2 separate regions of the Homo sapiens genome follow, and region 2 is linked to region 1. The links are contacts of gene promoters, found by promoter capture Hi-C in human tissues and cell types (Jung and others, 2019). All regions are on one chromosome and are shown on one strand. Each heading gives the region's core, a stretch centred on a gene start or on the middle of the fragment in contact. The rest is flanking DNA. Distances are from core to core; before and after follow the strand shown. Region 1 holds the start of SCG5 (secretogranin V). Region 2 overlaps FMN1 (formin 1).

Evidence for each region. The method cuts DNA at HindIII sites, captures the fragments that hold promoters and counts their contacts. A contact is called where the count stands out against the background at its distance.
Region 2: a contact is called between a fragment that was not itself captured here and the fragment with the promoter of SCG5 in region 1, in 1 of the 25 tissues and cell types used here (H1 embryonic stem cells).

The regions. Positions count from the first base shown.
Region 1 is chr15:32,639,605-32,643,275 of GRCh38, forward strand. It overlaps SCG5 (secretogranin V), which reads left to right and starts at 2,106. Exons shown (of 6, transcript NM_001144757.3): 1 at 2,106-2,174. The region is part of intron 9 of ARHGAP11A-SCG5 (ARHGAP11A-SCG5 readthrough); the gene reads left to right. It overlaps ARHGAP11A (Rho GTPase activating protein 11A), which reads left to right. Exons shown (of 12, transcript NM_014783.6): 12 at 1-337. RefSeq lists enhancers at 1,599-2,239, 2,240-2,878. The HindIII fragment of the contact is 11,081 bases long and covers 1-3,671 here.
Region 2 is chr15:32,835,913-32,839,583 of GRCh38, forward strand. All of the region lies in intron 17 of FMN1 (formin 1), which reads right to left. It also overlaps the pseudogene LOC107984761. Among named protein-coding and RNA genes, the nearest start is that of GREM1-AS1, 120 kb to the left of the region's middle. The HindIII fragment of the contact is 4,749 bases long and covers 1-3,671 here.

The DNA.
Region 1 (3,671 bases), core at 856-3,355:
TACCTGAACTGGCTTTTCTGAGAGATGAATCAATAATGAAACATGTCTGTTTTAAAAACTACCACATGTGACTCCTATTTTTGTTAGCTGAAAGCTGCTATACGGAGTATTACAGGAATGTGAAGGTGACTAGCTTGAAGGTAGGGTAACTAGAGAGCCAGAAAAGTTTTGTTTTAAACTTGATTTAATGCGTTTTTATTTTTTCTTATACAAAATAGAGATAATGTTGCTAACTTCATGGAATATTTGAGGAAATGATATGAAAGTGTCTGGACGTGCAGTAACCTCATGGGTTCTTCTCACTGTCTTATAAATGTAAATAAAGATCTAATATTAATTTGGTTATCTAATAACAACTTAATACATAGAACTTAGTAGACTGCATGGCCACATTCTATAATATGATCACTAAGAACTTAATGTAGGATTTTAATAGTCATGTTTTTCTTAATTGTGGCAGAATTTAAACCTTAATTTTGTGATCTTTTTTAGTTAGTTTGTTTTTTGTTTTCTTTTCTTTTTTTTTTTTTTTTTTTTTTGAGGCGGAGTCTCACTCTGTCGTCCAGGCTGGAGTGCAGTGGCACAATCTCAGCTCACCGCAACCTCCATCTCCCGAGTTCAAGCGATTCTTCTGCCTCAGCCTCCCAAGTAGTTGGGACTACAGGCATGCACCACCACGCCCAGCTAATTTTTGTAGTTTTAGTAGATACGGGATTTCACCATATTGGCCAGGCTGATCTCGAACTCCTGACCTTGTGATCCTCCCACCTTGGCCTCCCAAAGTGTTGGGATTATGGGCGTGAGCCACTGCACCTAACCTCTGTGATCTCTTAAATATATATGAAGTTTTATTTTTGAAACACCAAATTTCAAATGAAGCATAGGCATTTTGATCTATTTCAGTTAAATTTAACACAAAAGCAGTAAATTGTAGTGACTTCATTTTTTTCAACCACAAAATGAAGATAACAATGAACAAAGCTAAAGTAAAACTCAGAATTGAAAAAAGTCTCTGTGCATCAATAATAAATACTAACTCCAGCATGGCCAGTGAGCCTAGAGCCATTTAATGGATAGTGTTTGTCCTGTTGATTTAGCATGCATTGAAACAAGAAGCAAGAAGCAGATGAGCATCCGTGAAAGAAAAAGTACTGGGAAAGAGGCTTGGCTTCAAAATGAAAGGCCATGTGTCTCATAAATGAATTTTGCCAGCCTCTATTTATTGCATAAAAATTGCTGTAGATGATAATGGATTTGCTCTCTAGAGCTAAGATAAATAGATCTGGATTCTAACCTCATCAGGTTACTTGTTTTGAGACCCCCAGGTTCTTTACTCATCCTCCATCTTGATCAAATTTGTAGTGCCATATTTATTGTATGGCTTTACATTTTGATTTTAGTATTTGAACAAATTTCAGTGTTCAAGATTGCACATAGTAGGTGCTCCATAAACCCTTATTTAAGAATCTGGGACTACCTGGACATACTTCTACAGTATGCTGGGAGTATGGTTTCTCTTCAGGCCAAAGTGGAATTTTACTTGATGGTTTGTGTGGACGTTTAGAAATAACACTCAGAGCTGATATTTCTACAGATTTTCAAGTTTATCACTTTAATGGAAGTTTCTGGCTTCTTGTATTAAATATCCCCATAGTTTTCCTGATTAGTAAGAGGCCCCTCAGAGCAGGGTATACCTTATCATAGCCACCATTAAAAGTTCTTAGGACTTCATCTTTTGTCTCTCTACCATTCATTGCCTCTTCCCTCTTGAAGCTGAAAGGCTTTAGACACAAAAACAAAAAACATATTCTAGAAGTTGACAAAATTAAAGGTGTGCTGTAGTGGTGATCTGGCACGTTGTAATTGAGACTGAGGAGGTGAATGACTTACATGGAGGTCGATGGAGCTGAAGAGGGTCTCTAGGAAATGTCATAGTCAAGAGGTTTGTATGCAGAATGTGGGGGTTGAAGAGCTGTGCGGCTCCTGGTGAGAGGCACACTTATCTGGGATGCAGTCTGGGGAGTCCTGGCGAGGCAGCTTCCACCTGCTGGAGGAGGGGCCGGGGCGGAGCTAAGATGCGGAGGAGGGTGACGCACTAGCTCTCCAGTTCGCCCGTTCCTGGCCTGACCCCCACCAAGGCCCATACCGCAGTAGGCTCCTCGGGCTGCCCCTCGGTGAGTACAGTTTTGATGTCGGCTCGGCCGCCTGCCGCCAACCCGAGATTTGGTATTGCCAGTTGTGGGAGGGCGTCCTGCTAAAATCCTTGAGGTGGAGGCTGGGGTCAGACGAAGGATGCGTAGGGGATTAGAATGTTTGGCTATCAGTAAGGGGAAGGGAGTACTGAGGGAGGAGATTGTGTAGTTCATCAAATCAGAGCGGCGTTTGCTGGGATGACATCCTGCATTCAGAGTGGACAAGGGAAAGATGGAGATGGAGAGCCTCGTGTCTGCCTCCAGCCTTTTCCATCAGAATTGCAGATTTTGCTGTTAAACAGCTACTCTCAGCTCTTTGGAGAGCAAGGTTTTATATCTAGTGGCTAGAAAAGGCCTTTTCTTTGCAGAAAAAGAAATTGGAGGGTATAAAAATTTTTGTTTCAGTAAAGGAAATGCACGATTTTGCCTCCTCCCACCTCTCCATCCCCCATCCTCAGTAGAAGAATGATTAGAAGGAGGGTTTGCGCCGGTCCTGGTGGCTCACGCCTGTAATCCTAGCGCTTTGGGAGGCTGAGGGGAGGGGGTGGATCACCTGAGGTCAGGAGTTCGAGACCAGCCTGACCAATATGGTGAAACCCTGCCTCTATTAAAAATACAAAAATTAGCCGGGTTTGGTTGTGGGCGCCTGTAATTCCAGCTACTCGGGAGGCTGAGGCAGGAGAATCACTTGAACCTGGGAGGTGGAGGTTGCAGTGAGTCGAGATGGCGCCACTGCACTCCAGCCTGGGCAACAAGAGTGAAACTCCGTCTCAAAAAAAAAAAAAAAAAAAAAAAAAAAGGGTTTGCAAGGCCGCTGCCTGAAGCATGCATCCAAACACGTTAAGCAGCTGTGGGGTAAGCTGCAAGGATAATGTTCACTTGTTTTGCAGACATACCCATAGAAACCAACATTTTGGACAGGTTGACCCTCCCACCCCCAGGCTAGTTAACTCCCTCTCACCACCACTGCCTCCCCATATTCTAACCTCCAGAACTGTTAAGGCAATGTTAGCAACATAATAATAGCAATATAGGGGCTCATTCTGTGCCTGGCATTGTCCTAAACACTCTTAACATGTATTTGCACACACCCTCACAACAACCCTAAAAGGTAAATGCTTTAATTATCTCCGTTTTGCAGAGGAGGAAACTGAGGGACTTGCCTACGATCACTCAGCATGTGGCTGAGCAAACAAACCTCAAACTACCCCAGCAGATTGCAGGGCTGGATCTAAGGAACATTTTCCTTCCTTTCAGGATCGCAAACGTATTGGATGTTTGCTAAACTGAAATGTTTCCCTGCCACCACTCCCAACCTTCCTGAGCTTCTTGATTTGTGTCTTCCTGACTCCCTCCTGTTAGACTTTTATTCCCAGAGACTGGGAAAACCCAAGATGCCACTATCTCTTTCTCAAAATGTAAGCAAGTTTGGTTTATTTGTTTTAGTAAGAGAGGGAGAGAGTGATGAAGTTAGGAGTA
Region 2 (3,671 bases), core at 571-3,070, 200 kb after region 1:
TGCAGTGGCATGATCATGGCTCGCTGCAGCCTCAATCTTCTGGGCTCAAGTGTTCCTCCCACCTCAGCCTCTCTGTACCTGGGACTACAGATGCATGCTATCATGGCCCAGCCAGTTTTTAAAATTTTTTGTAGGATGTGGCCTCCCTATGTTGCCCAGGCTCGTCTTGAACTCCTGGCCTCAGGTGATCCTCCCACTTTAGCCTCCCAAAGTCCTGAGATTACAGGTGTGAGCGACTGCTCACAGCTGGGATTACAAGGCTGCTCACTAGCAGCCTTGTGCTTTTAGGAAGAAAGGGACTAGATTTCTGATGTAGCTCTGCTTCCAAACAAACCCAAACTCATTCAAATTCACAAACTCTAAAAGGTGATGCCTTCCCTCTGAGAATGTCCAAAGTCACAAAGCCAACTGCATGGCGGTTTGGGAATGGCAAAACTTTTAAAAGCTTTTGGTATCATAATTTACTTTTATTTAGGAGGATAGTATAGTTCACATTTTCTCCTTTTTCACAGGTTCTATTTAGTGTCATTTATAGTAGCAATAATTCATATTCTAACTTAGCTTTACCTCAGCAACTCTTTCTCCCCTTACTTTTAGTCTCAGTACTACAAATGCCCGCATGCTTTCTCCCCAGAACCGAGGCCTTCATATTTTTCTCCCTAAGCTGTATATGTCTTACAAACTTGTAAAATGAATGTAAATGAATGTAAAACTTTCCCCTTGTTTGGTGAAGAACAAGAGGATACACCCATTGCTTGAGCATACATCTCCCTCAGTCTCTCTCTTTTTTTTTAGAATGCAAAGTATTTTCTTTTTAAACTTTTAAAATCTGAAAACAAGCTAGCCTATGTTAAATAACATAGTTTCCAAAGCTGAACGTGCTCACTTGGAGCCCAGTTTTCTGCTTCAAATACAAACACAACTTCCTGACACTCCTAGGTGGGAACACTACTGTTTGACGATCTGTGATTAGATGAACTGATCGATCTCAGTGGGTAACATTCCTTTATTTTTTCCTTGGTAAAGGTTTAAAAATTCTAAAATAGATGCATTTTTTTTTTTTCAGTTTTACACTGACAATTTCATTCCAATTGTCTCCTGGGAGACACAGACCATGTACAGGAATCCATCTTCATCCTTCTCACTCTGCTACAATGCTGTGTCTGTTCACCGCCAGGAGGAAGGCTTGATTAGCACTGAGCTGGAAGGACCTTCTAATGATCTTGATGAGCTCACTCAGGTTGATGTGGTCCAGTACAAGGAACATTGCTTTATCCAGGACGGGAAGCTGCTTCTCAGCCTTGTATCGTTCTGTTACTACCAAGATTTTGGGTGGATGCTGCTCTCGGAGAAGTCAAACTTCTACTCTTTGTTCAAAGGTGTGGTGTGGCCTGAAGGTCTTCTCTGATGTCATGGTGCAGGGATCTGGGTGGTGGTGGCGACATAAGGGTTCTGGCGGCTCCTGGGGGTGGCGGTGGCAGTGAATCTAACTCTGGCGACAGTGACTTCTCTTGTCTCCCTCAGTCTCTTTATTATATGCTTGATCCATCAGAAAGTCTCAAGGTTCTATGCACCTCAGCAACCCCAGTGATAAGGCAAGGGGTTCATGGACTGAGTCCTGAAGCCCTCTTGTGTTTAGAGATTGGGAAGATGAAGAACCAGCTTAGGAGATTGAGGAATGCCCATGAAGTAGAGAGAAGACAAAAGAGGGTTAGGACCTAAAGCAAGAAGGAGTTTTCAATCCATCATTTGATCAGCTATATCTAATGCTCCTGAAAGGTGGAGTAAGATTTTGCGTCAGATATATAGGGTCTTTTAGACTGGAATAGTGTCTGATTCTTCTTTTTTTCCTCAGAGTCTCACATATAGTAGATAACTTATAAATGCTGAATGAACAACTGAAAAAGAATAGTAGTGATTGGTCACAGAGAATGGGATGTGCTCTCTGTTAATTCCTTGCCCATCAACAGATGCCCATCCTAGGGCAAAATGGGAGAAAGACTATCATTTCCACAGTCCTCATGCTGAATGGATCCCAAGTGCTATTGCCTCATTTATGTAGCATGATCCAGAGACACTTCCAGTCTGAAGAACTTCAAAGGTTTTAGGAGGCTGAGGTGGAGGGCTCGGGGAGCAATGAAGGCAAGAGGGAAAGGGATGAACAACCACAATAAAAGGCCGGCACGTTCACAACAATGTTGGGCAAAGACAGTGATTCCTGAATATGAAGGAATCTGGAGAGCGAGTCACAAGAAACTGAAAACATAAGGGGGTGGAGGAGATGCTGAGAGAAAACAGAAAGCTATGAAAGAAGGCAGACGCTCAAACCGAGGTAAGAGAGAAAAAATTAAAAGCGGAAGGGGAGAAAGAAAAAAAATCGGAGAGGTGAGGCCAATGTATGGAAAAAGAGCAAAGGAAACACAGGGCCATTGTCTGATGCTGAGAACAGTCTGGAGACTGAGCAACTGGTGCCCGATTTCTGTGCATCTCAAGAGGAGATAAATGGCAGATTGAAGGGACCCTCTTGGCATTCTGGATCCAAGAGGAAAACATAGCAGGCGCAGTGAATGCTCAAGTAAACACAAACAGCAGCAGCCGTGGGGTTACGAGTGACCTGACTGCAGGCTCTGTCCTCTCCTGGCCTCCAGCCTGTGTGTACAACACACATGCCCGCTTAAAGCCCCGCTTAAAGCGGGAGGGCAAAAATCTCCTGCAACTGGGTGACCTCTGTTGTCAGCATTTGGCTAATTAAGGAAAGATATTACCCTACAGATCTCTATGCCTTGGTCCTACTTCCTGCTCATTAAAAAATGGTTTAATGAGAAAAAAATCAAGGCAACAGAATCCAAATTATTATTTTTTCTCCCAAATGAGCTGAATGACAGTGGCTGTTGCCAGAACGCTTGAACAATAGGATTGTGACACGAAGACTGAAATCTAAACAACATGAAGAAATCTCGAGAGCCCAGCAGTCCCCATTATCTCATGCTTGCACGACGATAGTCCAAAAGATGAGTGATGAGTCTCCATTTGTGCAAGCACAGCAGCAGTCCAAGGCCCTGACACAGCCACTAATTGCCCATCTGCTTGTTTACACAGCCCAGAGATGGTGACTGGACAAACAGTTCATTTCCCTTGAAACGGGACCAAACTGGGAGGAGCCTGTCACATGGGACAGAGGAGGACTAGGAAGAACTCTCATGAGAAAGTGCCCCCAGATCAAAGCCAAGGACCAGCAAGCCAAGCAAAGATGGGTTCCAGCGGCTGGCTTCTCACAGGCAGCTTCGGGTCTACCGCTTTCTGCACCCTGCCCACCCACTCCCAGCAGAACTGGAACCCCTCTCCCTGAGGACAGGACATTTTGAACCATTCACGTAAAAGTCTCAACCACGGAGCGTCAGCACCAACCCACCCTTCAGGCGTTGGCAGCAAGGACAACTGTGTTCAGGTGAACTTCTAGCCCTTTCAGACTTCACTGGATGCTTGGCATTTGCTACACTAGTTCCCATTTTAGTGTTCTGCTTGTCTCGTAGACTGGACTGTAAACAACTTGAGCACCAGGGACCTGAAGCCCCCGGATTCCACAGCAGGGCACTTTACATGTGAAGAGCCATTAGCCAGGAAATGCTTATGGTTGTTAATGATGATAAGCTACTCCAAACATAGTTTCT